2 separate regions of the Homo sapiens genome follow, and region 1 is linked to region 2. The links are contacts of gene promoters, found by promoter capture Hi-C in blood cells and fetal thymus (Javierre and others, 2016). All regions are on one chromosome and are shown on one strand. Each heading gives the region's core, a stretch centred on a gene start or on the middle of the fragment in contact. The rest is flanking DNA. Distances are from core to core; before and after follow the strand shown. Region 1 has its middle 46 kb from the start of LINC02129. Region 2 holds the start of IL21R (interleukin 21 receptor).

What was found. The method cuts DNA at HindIII sites, captures the fragments that hold promoters and counts their contacts. A CHiCAGO score of 5 or more calls a contact.
Region 1: a contact is called between a fragment that was not itself captured here and the fragment with the promoter of IL21R in region 2, in 6 of 17 cell types (neutrophils, activated CD4 T cells, naive CD8 T cells and 3 more). The highest score is 10.3, in neutrophils.

What each region holds. Positions count from the first base shown.
Region 1 is chr16:27,127,873-27,134,175 of GRCh38, forward strand. It overlaps the pseudogene EEF1A1P38. Among named protein-coding and RNA genes, the nearest start is that of LINC02129, 46 kb to the right of the region's middle. The HindIII fragment of the contact is 952 bases long and covers 2,117-3,068 here.
Region 2 is chr16:27,396,628-27,403,423 of GRCh38, forward strand. It overlaps IL21R (interleukin 21 receptor), which reads left to right and starts at 5,547. Exons shown (of 9, transcript NM_181078.3): 1 at 5,547-5,991. RefSeq lists enhancers at 5,624-6,166, 6,059-6,178. The HindIII fragment of the contact is 2,346 bases long and covers 4,751-6,796 here.

The sequences.
Region 1 (6,303 bases), core at 1,343-3,842, 270 kb before region 2:
TAAGGTTTGCAGCAGTGCTTTCTGTACAGATATCATCTTTACAAATTATTTGTCTCTTCTTCATTCCCAATTATTTTCTATTTCTGAAACAGGTAAAAGGGGATTGAGAATTGTGGTATATGTGCCCAACTATTTCATTCGAAAATCTACATAGCTGGGTGCAGTGGCTCATGTCTGTAATCCCAGCACTTTGAGAGGCCAAGGCTGGCAGATCACTAGAGGTCAGGAGTTCGAGACCAGCCTGGCCAACATGGTGAAGCCTCATCTCCACTAAAAATACAAAAATTAGCCAGGTGTGGGGACAGGCACCTGTAATCCCAGCTACTAGGGAGACTGAGGCACTAGAATCACTTGAACCTGGGAGACGGAGGTTGCACTTGAACTCCGGGAGACAGAGGAGCTGAGATCACGCCACTGCACTGCAGCCTGGGTGACAGAGCAAGACTCTGTCTCAAAAAAAAAAAAAGAAAAGAAAAGAAAAAAATCTGTATACAGTGAATTGGCACCTCAGTTCAAAATTTCCCTTCTATCTTATCTTCGTGCCTAAGTGAAACTTCAATTTTAACATACTATTACACAAGACCGTTGTGCAAATAACAAGACTGAATAGTATTAATTACCATTCCATGCATTAAGTTGTGCTGGGCAAATAGCATTCATTATTATATTTAATTATCATAGCAACTCTGAGAGACAAGTTACTTTTGTTATGATCCTCATTTTACAGATGAAGAAACTGAGGGTCAGAGAGGTAAGTGACTTGCCCAAAGGTACACACTAGGAACCAGAAAAACAGGGACTTCAACCCAAGTCACGCTGGTGCCAACATCCCTACTGGCAAGCCATATGAACCTCCCTGCCTTGAGCTTCTTCAGTAACAAGGTCAGGAAACTAAAGTTCCCTGACATCAGCTGTCTGCCTGTTGGTCAGCAGTGGTAGTGACAACACCAGTATTTGTACCCAGGTCCCTGTCACCAAAGCTGGTGACTATACGACCTCCATGTTTGTCAGGCATCCAGTAGGTAGTAGGTACATGATAACATCAGCTCCTCCTTCCATCTGCTGGGAACAACCCAGTTAATCAACCTAATGGCTTTCCTTTCAAGAGTACCAATCTCTTTGGCATATCCAGCAGATATACCCAAGGTTTCTTAAGATTTACACTTCTCTGCACCCCATTCCCATGACCATCCCTTAAGAAGTCCCCTCTGTTTCACCCCCAACTTCCCTTTGAAAGATCTATTCCCGTCCCTCCTCCCAGAAACTGTCCAACACCGCTGTCCTCCTTGGTCAATTGTTCTAGACGTATTATTTATGGCAAACTCATTTGTCCCTAACACAAATGTAAGATGTAATTCCCCAAGAATTCAAATGTAATTTAAAGTTATTTTCCAATATCTAATTTGCCTTTTATTTATTTAGGGCAATATTTCAGCAGGAACTTCCCAGCCAAAGTGCCAGCATTTGTTTACAGTGTCAGGCCCAGCAATGGTGGGTAACCACACACCCCAGACACAGACATTACCGATTAAAAAAGTAATTACAACATTGAACACAGCCTTAAATAAAAGCAAAAATGCAGGAGACAAGAGGGGAAGCAAAAACATAAATGGAAACAATGCCGTTTTCCCCAGACGTTTTGTAATATTTGCAGCCTGCCTGGTACTGGCACCCTGCCCTGGCTGTGCCAGACACAAGCAAAGCATCCAGTGAGGAGGGGTGGGGTGGCTCTGCTCTGAAAAGAGGTGGAAAGAAGTGCCTAATCATCAGAGAACATCTGTCTGCCTGTTTGCCTGTCTGTCTGTCTGTCTTTTGTTTAACATCTTGCTCTGCTGAGCACCCACTTATACTGATCCTCAGGGGATTAATTGCATACTGTGTTATGGCAAATGACCAAAACCCCACACAATCAAACTGACTTAACTAGGAAATGGGTATGTTCTGGTTCATGACAGACCATCTGTAGTTCTAGTTTCAGGCACAGTTGGATCCAGGGGCTCAACATCATGTAGAATCTCTCAGTCTCTATCACTTGGCTCTTCTTTCCACAAAGTTGACTTCATTTTCAATCAGGCATTCTCTACCTGGTGGCTAACATAGAATCCTAGCAGCTTTAAGCTTACATCCCATCAGCTTAGTGTTCCCCCAAAGAAAGGAAGTGCTTCTTTTCCCACCATTCTAGCAAAAATATCAAGTCAGCCTTTCATTGGCCCAACTTGGGTCATGTGCTGATCCGTGAACCAATAATTGTAGCCAGGGAGTTTCAGTCCTTTCATTGGCCAGGCCTGGTTCAGATTCCCACCCCTTGAGAACAAAGGTAGGACCAGTCCCACCCAAACTGAGACTGAGAGCGAGGAAGAGATAATTCACGAAAAGAAAATTGAGGTTCCCATGAGAGCTGAAGGAGCAATAAGACACTGGGTGAGTAAACACGACTAATTTCCACCACAGATTTGAACACTTTCTGTCTGTTTCTAACACCTCTACTCTTCCTACAGTATCTCCAGACCACATTTTTAGACTTGTGAGCACAGTACAGTGACCTCTGCTCCATTCTTGGGAGGATAATAGGACTGTCCTATAGAATGTCAAACTTGCAGATTCTTCCCTCGATTTTATTAAAAGATTCTGTAAACTATAACATAGCACAACTGGGAACAGATGACATTTTGTAGCCACCAAGGGTAGCCTGCTTCAAGTGGCCCAGGACTTCCTTCAAGATGAATATAACAAGAGTTTTTGGGTTTGAATGAGTCAAATAATTGCTGTCTAATTGTCTAACAATTAAGTCACAGGAGAGGCAGGAAGTATAGTTGCTGTAAGCATTTTTGAGTAGTCACACTTTGGACCTGACCCCAAATCAGTGTTCCTGGTTCCTGCTTATACCCCAAGGAGTGACTGTGTATGCGAACTGATAGAATTGATTGTAGAGATGTAACTCTGGGGCCAAATGTGTGTAGCTCTTGGCCACACTTAGCACTGAAGGAGTCGGATCATTCTCTCTCAATGGATATCCAGAAACTGGGTCTCACATAATCACAGAACAAAGCATTCACAAGACTGTGCAAAGCTTTCTTCAACAGCAACCCCTCTGGCAACATGAGGCAACTGCAGCAGTGAACTAATCAGACCCCTGTCCTTAGCCACTTGTAGGTTAACCATGGGCAGACATTCCCCTTGGAACTAAGAACACCTGTATGGTTCACAGATCATTTAAGAGGGCACAGAGAACTCCACAAGAAAAGTGATGAACATTCTACTAATAAGGCAGGTGGTTGCGGAAGCAATTCGTAGGGAAAATGAAAGCACTCTGCCTCATTCAGGCCCCAAGTTTGTGGAGATGTTCTTGCTGCCAACACAAGGAATAAATGAGAGTCTGGATCTAGGTTCCTAAGAACCATTCCTGGTATATAGGAATATAGTAATATTTGGCCTTTTATAATTCCAGTCAACAGCACTTTTTCCCCTTTTAAATTTTTTTTTAATTTTTTGAGACAAGGTCTTGCCCTGTCACCCAGGCTGGAGTACAGTGGTATGATCTCAGCTCACTGCAACCTCCACCTCCTTGGTTCAAGCGGCTTTTCTGCCTCAGTCTCCTGAGTAGCTAGGACTACAGGTACACACCACCTCACTTGGCTATTTTTTTTTTGTATTACTGGAGATGGGGTTTCACTGTGTAGGCTAGGCTAGTCTCGAACTCCTGACCTCAAGTGATCCATCTGCCTTGGCCTCCCAAAGTGCTGGTATTACAGGCATAAGCCACCACATCCAGCCATTTTTTCAGTTTTTATTGTTGTTGTCACTTGCCAGAGACCATGATTGTCTCTTACTCAAACACCACTGTATTTAATGTAATCCCATCTGAAATTCTGTGAGGTAGATAGCATTATCATTCATCCCCACATTATCGATTTTTTTTAATGGAGGTTCAGAAAGGGAAGATGATATGCCCAAAGTCACACCATGGTAGAACCAGGACTAGAACTCAGATTTCCCGCTCCCCAACTAGTGCTTCCATTAACTAAGGGCTTTGTGTTCTCAAACACAATGGGCAAAGGGAGACAGAAAACTTGTGTTTCTTGAACATCTGTGATGGCAGGCACCACGCTGGGCATGTTTACATATATCAGCTCATTTACTCTTCTCCACAGTCCCATGAGGCCTCTGTGGTATCATTTCCCCCATTTTAGTCAAACGGAGGCACAAAGAGAGAGGCGGTACCTTTCCCTGAATCACTGTACAGCAGGAGTCTCTGATGGGATTCAGCATAAAGAGGACATTTTTCCAGGAAGGAAGCTCCCTGCCCAATGGGACTGGTGGAGTCTCATCCTCACTCCTACTCTCCAGAAACATCACTGAACCACTCCACTCTTCCCAGGAAACAAATTCTGGGCACACTCCAGGGTCCCTGAAAAAGACTCCCTCACCTCCAACTTTACCAGCTGGCTCCATCCAAGAGTGAAACTGGCCCAATTTTCCCATAGAATTAGGGGTGTAAACATATACAACTTTGGTATAAAAGGAAAAATTGAAGTTATTTGTTAAATATACTCAGTTCCTAATTGGTATCCATCTCTGTACTAAACATCAAAAAAATAAAGTCCAGACTCTCAAGCATGTAAATGAACAATTTTACAATTGTTCATTTGATTATAAGTCTGTGATATGGTTTGGCTGTGTCCCAACCCAAATCGCATATTGAGTTGTAGCTTCCATAATCCCATGTGTAGTGGGAGGGACCCAGTGGGAGGAAATTGAATGATGAGGGCTGGTTTTCCCATGCTGTTCTCATGGTAGTGAATAAGTCTCACAAGATCTGATGGTTTTATAAAGGGCAGCTAGTTCTCCTGCACACACCCTCATGCCTGCTGCCATGTAAGATGTGCCTTTGCTCCTCCTTCCCCTTCCACCACGATTGTGAGGCTTCCCCAGCCATGTGGAAATGTGAGTTCATTAAACCACTTTTTCTTTATAAATTACCCAGTCTCAGGTATTTCTTCATAGCAGTATGAAAATGAACTAATTCAGGCTGCTGCAAGGAACAGGAAAGGGCCAGAGACAAGGCAAAGCTGGAGCATGCTAGAAGACAGATCTTGTCTTGAAGAGTCTAAAACTATCATTAAAGTCTCCCTGAAAGTTTGCAGATTACACTTAGGGATTTATAAGTGCTCAGCAATAACTTATTAAAATTTTAGTGTGTTCACAAATACTAGCACATTCTGGATCATCTCCCTGACAACCAGAATGGAATCCATGCAATGATTTGATTTGTGATCATTTTGGGGTCTAGTAATAATGTGTGTTTTTTCTCATTAAATTTTGTTTTAATGGGTCTCAAAATTCTGTGACAGATTTTTGGTCAAGTTGCTTCCATTGAAAAGTACTGATTTTAAAAACTAATAATTTAAAACTGCCACACGAAAAAACAAAACAAAACAAAAAATCAAAGTGGTCCACAAAACATTCTCCTTTCCTTCTGAAGGTTTTATGATGCATTGTTATCATTAACCAGTCTTTTACCATTAAACTTAAATGGGCAATTGAAACAAACAGTTCTGAGACTGTTCTTCCACCAATTAAGACCAGGGTAGCAGGTATTAGGGATAATATTCATTTAGCCTTCTGAGCTTTCTGGGCAGACTTGGTGACCTTGCCAGCTTCAGCAGCCTTCTTGTCCACTGATTTGATGACACCCACAGCAACTGTCTGTCTCATATCACGAATAGCAAAGCGACCCAGAGGTGAATAGTCTGAGAAGCTCTCAATACACATGAGCTTTCTAGGAACCATATCAACGATGGCAGCATCACCAGATTTCAAGAATTTAGGGCCGTCTTCCAGATTTTTACCAGAATGGAGATCAATCTTTTCCTTCAGCTTAGCAAACTTGCAGGCAATATGAGCCGTGTGGCAGTCCAGTACAGGGGCATAGTCCACACTTATTTGGCCTGGGTGGTTCAGGATAATCACCTAAGCGGGGAAGCCAGCTGCTTCCATTTGTGGGTTTTCTTTTTGCTGTCACCAGCATCGTTGCTATGACGAATCTCCTTGACGGACATGTTCTTGACATTGAAGCCCACATTGTGCCCAGGAAGAGCTTCACTCAAAGCTTCATGGTGCTTTTCAACACAATTTACTTCAGTTGTAACACTGACAAGAGCAAAGGTGACCTCCATGCTGGGTTTGAGAACACCAGTGTCCATTCGGCCAACAGGAACAGTACCAATACCACCAATTTTGTAGACATCCTGGAAAGGCAGGCGCAAGGGCTTGTCAATTAGACAAGTTGGTGGTAGGATGCAG
Region 2 (6,796 bases), core at 4,297-6,796:
ATGCAATTCCTATAAAAGTCCCAATGGCCTTTTTTAAAAAATGGAAAAACTGATCCTAAAAATCATGTGAAATTTCAAGGGACCCAGAAAAGCCAAAACAATAAAGTTGGAGGACTCAAATTCCCATTTTTAAAATTTACTGCAGAGCCAAGATTGTGCCATTGCATTCCAGCCTGGGCAACAAGAGCGAAACTCTGTCTCAAAACAACACAAAAACAAAAACAAAACAAAACAAAACTTACTGCAGAGCTACAGTAATCAAAACAGTGTGATAATCCTGGCACAAGGCTAGACATATAGATCAATGGAATTGAACTTAGAGTTCAGAAATAAACCCATGAATCTATAGTCAATTTTTTTTCATTTTTTTTGCATTAAAGCACACTATCAACAAAGTGAAAAGACAGCCACAGAATGGGAAAAATATTTGTAATTCATATATCTGATAAAGGTGAGTTTCCAGAATATACAAAGAACTCTTAAAATTCAACAACAAATGATGAACAATCAAATTTAAAAATTGGCAAGGAGCTGGGCACGGTGGCTTATGCCTGTAATCCCAGCACTTTGGGAGACTGAGGTGGGCGGATCACCTGAGGTTAAGGGTTCGAGACCAGCCTGGTCAACATGGTGAAAACCCGTCTCTACTAAAAACACAAAAATTAGCTGGATATGGTGGCACACGTTTGTAAGCCCAGCTACTCGGGAGGCCGAGGCACAAGAATCGCTTGAACCCAGGAGGTAGAGGTTTCAGTGAGCCAAGATCACACCACTGCACTCCAGTGTGGGAGACAGATCAAGACTCTGTCTAAAAAAAAAATAAAATAAATAAAATTTGGCAAGGGACTTCAATAGACATTACTCCAAACAAGATATGCAAATGACTACCAAGCACATGAAAAGATGCTTACCATCATTAGCCATTAGGGAAATGCAAATCAAAACCACAATGAGATACCACTTCACATCCGCTAGGATGGCTATAATAAAAACCAACAGAAAATACATATTGTCTGCTGGGTGCGGTGGCTCACGCCTGTAATCCCAGCACTTTGGGAGGCCGAGGCGGGCGCATCACGAGGTCAGGAGATCGAGACCATCCTGGCTAACACGGTGAAACCCCGTCTCTACAAAAGAAAATACAAAAAATTAGCCAGGCGTGGTGGCAGGCACCTGTAGTCCCAGCTACTCGGGAAGCTGAGGCAGGAGAATGGCGTGAACCCGGGAGGCGGAGCTTGCAGTGAGCCGAGATCGCGCCACTGCACTCCAGCCTGGGCGACAGACCGAGACTCCATCTCAAAAAAAAAAAAAAAAAGAAAAAAAAAAAAAAGAAAATACATATTGTCAAGGACGTAGAGAAATGGGAACCTTCAGACATTGCTGGTGGGAATATAATACAGGGCAGCTGCTGTGAAAAACAGTTTGTCAGTTTCTTAATAAGTTAAACTTATTTAAAAGTTAATAAGTTAAACTACCTTTAACTCAACAAGTCTCCTTCTGGGTATATATCCAAAAGATTTGAAAATGCATGTCTACACAAAGACTCGCATGCAAGTGTTCATAGCATGCTTGTTTGTAGTAAAGGAAAAAGTGGACATACTCCAAATGTCCATCATCTCATGAAAGGATAAATGAATGTGGCATATCTATGCAATGTAATATTCTTCAGCAATAAAAATCAATTTTTATTTTTTATTTTTTTGAGATGGAGTTTCGCTCTGTCTCCCAGGCTGGAGGGCAGTGGCACTAGCTCTGCTCACTGCAACCTCCACTTCCCGTGTTCAAGCAATTCTCCTGCCTCAGCCTCCTGAGTAGCTAGGGCTACAGGTGCACGTCACCATACCTAACTAATTTTTGTATTTTTAGTAGAACAGGGTTTCACCATGTTGGCCAGGCTGGTCTCAATCTCCCGGCGTGTGCAACCACACCAGGCTAATTATTGTATTTTTTAGTAGAGGCGGGGTTTTACCATGTTGTCCAAGCTGGTCTCGAACTCCTGATCTCAAGTGATCCGCCCACCTTGGCCTCCCAAAGTGTTGAGATTACAGGCATGAGCCACCGCGCCTGGCCTAAAAATGGATTTTTAGATATGTGGTGCCAACACACGCTACAACGTGGTTGAACCCCAAACACGCGATGCTGAAAGAAACTAAACACAAAAGACAACATATTGATATGAGATGCCTAGGAAAAAAAAAAAGCAAAATCAGTAGAGGCATAAAGTAGACGAGTGGCCCTGGGAATGGGAATGGAGATTGACTATAAGCAGGCACAAGGAACCTTTCAGGAGTGATGGGATTGTTTTAAAATTGGATCGTGGTTATAATTGCACAATTCGATAAATTCACTAAAAATCATTGAACTGTACATTTACAGTGGCTTGATTTTATGTTATGTAAAACATAGCTAAATAAAGCTCTTAAAATAAAAATAAAAAAGAGGAAATGGGTTGAGGGAGGGGGTGTGTCAATTATTTTTTCCCAGGAGGCCCCTTGGCTGAAATGCAAATGTGACCACTTCCTCCCCGCTGACCAGCTATCAGCACTGAGGCATGGTTGGAGGGCCGCTGAGATCCTATGGCACCTTCCTTCCAAGGGTATAGAGGCCATACTTATGAGACATTTACAGACCCAGAGGAACCCCTCAAGGGACCACATGTCTATTTCTGAGGGGACTCATGTTTACCCCAGTGGACATGGGCCTGGCAGCTCCAAATGCATCTACTTTTTAAGCACCAAGGGACTGTGACCCCTGCTGATCCCACCCATTCCCCAACTCCTGGCCTGAACTGAAAATGTAAACTGGATTAAGCCACTCTTAAGATGAAACCCTCCAATGATGACTTCCCATTTCCTTTGGAACAATCTACCTTCCTCACCCAAAACCGTGAGGTCCCATGTGGTGTAGATGTGTGATTTCCGTGCCTTCACCTTCTACTATTCCTCCATTTGCTCACTGTATTACGCCATGCTGTTCTCAAGTTCCTGGAGCCAGCCACATTCTTTCCTACCTCAGTGCCTTTGCACTTGCAGATCCTTCTGCCGATAATGTTCTTCCCATGGCTGGGCACTTCTTAGCACCTAGTGTACCCCCAAATGTCACAACCTTGATCTCTCATTGGTTTTCTATGACATTTAGTACAGTTTACATTGAGTTTGTCTGTTACTTCTTTTTGTCTAACTCTCCCTACTAGAATATAGGCTCCATGGGGGCTGTCACTGTGTGTATATTTCTGTGGGCTAGCCCCAGGATGTAGCCAAGCTGCGTGATTTTGGACAAGTCACTTAACCTCTCTGAGCCTGCTCAATAAATATTAGGGGGAGGAAGCAAGGAATGGCTGGGTGGGTGGGTGCAGAGAAGAATGAATGGGTGGATAGGTAGGTGGGTGGGTAGAAAGCAGGTAGATAAAGAAGGCAGGCAGGAGGGAGGGAGGAGAAATTGAATATCCTTGTTTTCATACACACCCCAGAGCAGTGTAGTGAGTTAAGAGTGCGGGCTCTGGAGCCCAAATGACTGAGTTCAAATCCCAACTCTGGCACTCATCAGCTGTGTGACCTTGGACAAGTCACTTAACCTCTCTGAGCCTCAGTTTCCTCATCTGTAAAACAGGGACGATGATGATGATGATGATAACTATCTTCTAGACTCATTCTTTTTCATTTTGGGGATTTTATTTTTGAAGACAGAGTCTTGCTCTGTTGCCCAGGCTTGAGTGCAGCACTACAGTCATAGCTCACTGCAGCCTTCAGCTCCTTGGCTCAAGTGGTCCTCCCACCTCAGCCTCCAGAGTAGCTGGGACTACAGGCGTGCACCACCATGACTGTCTAATTTTTAAATTTTTTTATAGAGACAGGGTCTTGCTATGTTGCCCAGACTGGTCTTGAACTCCTAGCCTCAATCGATCCTCCCACCTCAGCCTCCCAAAATGATGGAATTATAGGTGTGCACCGCTGCACACAGCCTTCTCGAGTATTTCTGAGGTTTAAATGAGAGGGTGCATCTTTAAAGTCCTTAAAACCCTGGCACACAATGAGCTTTCAGCAAATATTAGCTCTTTTTACTGTCTCTTCTCCTGATCTTTCAACCACTACAAATTTCAGTGCATGTTATCAGAGAATTCACCCCGAAGATCAAGAGAAAGAAAAACAAAAGCTGGTGTCTTCCCAAGGTTCGTTCTCCAGAGAACACGACACACTTCGGTAGCTGGGAAGAGCTCTACAGGGCCAGGATCCCTCAAATCAACCACAGGGGAATTTGTACCAAGTTCCTCAAAAACAGCTAGAAAAAAAAAGAAAGAAAGAATAGCAAGACGCTTTCTCTTTTTTCTCTGGAGTGGTCACGAAAGTCAACAGCAAGTTGATTCCCAAAAATGAGTCAGCAGGGAGAGCTACAAATTGCATCTTGTTATCAAAACAGCATAAAATAGCCTCCCCCAACTGTGGGACATTTCATCCTGGTATGGCCCCGTTTTCACAGCCTGGTATAAGCTTAGGAATCAAACACACCCAGGTTCAAATCCCAGCTCTAATTCTTCTTGGCTTGTGTGACGTTTCACTCCTCTGGGCCTCAGTCTCTCCATCTGTAAAATGGGACTAATCTTGTCTGCCTCACACTTTGTGGGATAAAGTGAGATCATGTAGGCACCAAAGTAATTCGAGGTGGTGGTGATGGCAGTGGTAGTGGTGGTGGTGGTAGCGGTGGTGGTGGTAGCAATTCTCTTGCTCTCCTTTGGAGACTGCACTAGGCATTAAGCTTGTTACATTTTGTCTCCTGGTTTCTTGAATGTCTTCCAGAAACATCTGACCCTCTCATGGGCCTCTGGCATGTTAGCAAGATGAAAACTCTCTTGAGAATTTCTTTTCTCTATTTTCTTCTTGAATTCTCATGTGTTAATGTCTGCCCTCTTCCTCATAGCTAGGTGCCCCCATTTGACAGATGGGCAAAGTGAGGCATTCAGAGAGGTGATGTGACGTGCCCAAGGGGTCCTGCTCCCTGGAGCTCTGCAGCAGGAGACTGGATCCAAAGGAAATGGAGGCAGAGAGGCATGGGGGTCAAGCCAGAGCAGAGGGTCCCAAGCTCAGACCCTATTAGGCAGGTAAGGCTCAGGAATAAGAAACAGGCTGGTTTGCAAAGTCTGAAAAAGGGGCTTCCGTGGGACCTTGGGCAAGGTTCTGGTCCTTCTCTCTGTGCTGAGGGGCTGGAGTCGGCCACTGAGGACTCTGGGTCCACGGGTGAAACTGTGCCACATCTTCACACCTCTGGCCTCAGTTTCCATATCTGTGCAATGTGGTGGCTCCAGGAGGCACTGCCTGCCTCATGGGTTATGACTGAGAGGCCTGTGGGGATGATGTCACAGGTCCCTAAGAGGGAAGTGTCACCCCGATGGCCCCAAATGTCTTACTTGCAGGTGACCTTTGGTGACAGTGGGTGCCTGCTGTGGGGCCAGGCCCCCTCCCACCTCTTTCTCACTCCCTCCCAGGAGGAGCCCAGCTGCGGGTGGGCGGGGCTGGCGGGGAGCGGCTCACCACATCCTCCTCTTCCTCCCCACTCTGCACATGCGGCTGGGTGGCAGCCAGCGGCCTCAGACAGACCCACTGGCGTCTCTCTGCTGAGTGACCGTAAGCTCGGCGTCTGGCCCTCTGCCTGCCTCTCCCTGAGTGTGGCTGACAGCCACGCAGCTGTGTCTGTCTGTCTGCGGCCCGTGCATCCCTGCTGCGGCCGCCTGGTACCTTCCTTGCCGTCTCTTTCCTCTGTCTGCTGCTCTGTGGGACACCTGCCTGGAGGCCCAGCTGCCCGTCATCAGAGTGACAGGTCTTATGACAGCCTGATTGGTGACTCGGGCTGGGTGTGGATTCTCACCCCAGGCCTCTGCCTGCTTTCTCAGACCCTCATCTGTCACCCCCACGCTGAACCCAGCTGCCACCCCCAGAAGCCCATCAGACTGCCCCCAGCACACGGAATGGATTTCTGAGAAAGAAGCCGAAACAGAAGGTAATTCCAGCCCTGGTTTTCTGCTGGGACCAGGGTGCCTTCTCTGCCCAGGAGGGACTGTTCCCTGCCTGCTGCATCTAGTGTCACAGTGGGAGGGCTCGGAGGACTGTGCCCAAGTCACAATTGGGGACACTGAGGCAAAGAAGATTCATGCAGTGAGGCTGGGCAGAAATGAGGTTGGGGTCTCTTGTTCAGCACAGCTTAGGGGCCCAGCAGCAGGGATGTGGCTGAGACGACCCTCTATCTTGAAAACCAGCCTCCAAAATGTAGCGGGCTGGGGAAGGAAAGCCAGTTTCAAGCCAAACATAACATGTCAATCACCCGATTCTGGGCGGCTGAGTCGGGAGGTGACGGGCATGGGTGTAGAGCCTGATGGGACCCATTCTGTGTCAGTTTCTATGTCTTACCACCTTGATTCCACCCAGTCATTCAAAACAATGGCTGGTGTGCCCATTTCGCAGATGAGGCAATGAGGCTGCGAGAGGTAGAGTGATTTTCCCTCGGTGACTCAACTGGGACGTAGCAGGTCGGGCAGTCAAGCCAGGTGACCCCATGAGCTGTCGCTGCATCTTTCTCATGAAGCACGGGGAACGGGTCGGATGGTAAGAGGCCAACCCAGTTCCCTGTGCATGTGGAGGAGAGGAGGGTGGGGAGGTCAGTGGAGGCTGAGCCTTGAAGGATGGGAAAGGAAGAACATTCCTGGTGGAGGAGCCCTGGGGAGCGGGAACTTAGGACTTGCCGCAGGAATGACGTCTCTGCTCAGTGAAGGCAGAAGACCAGGTGCGGGACATTCAAAGCCAGGAGG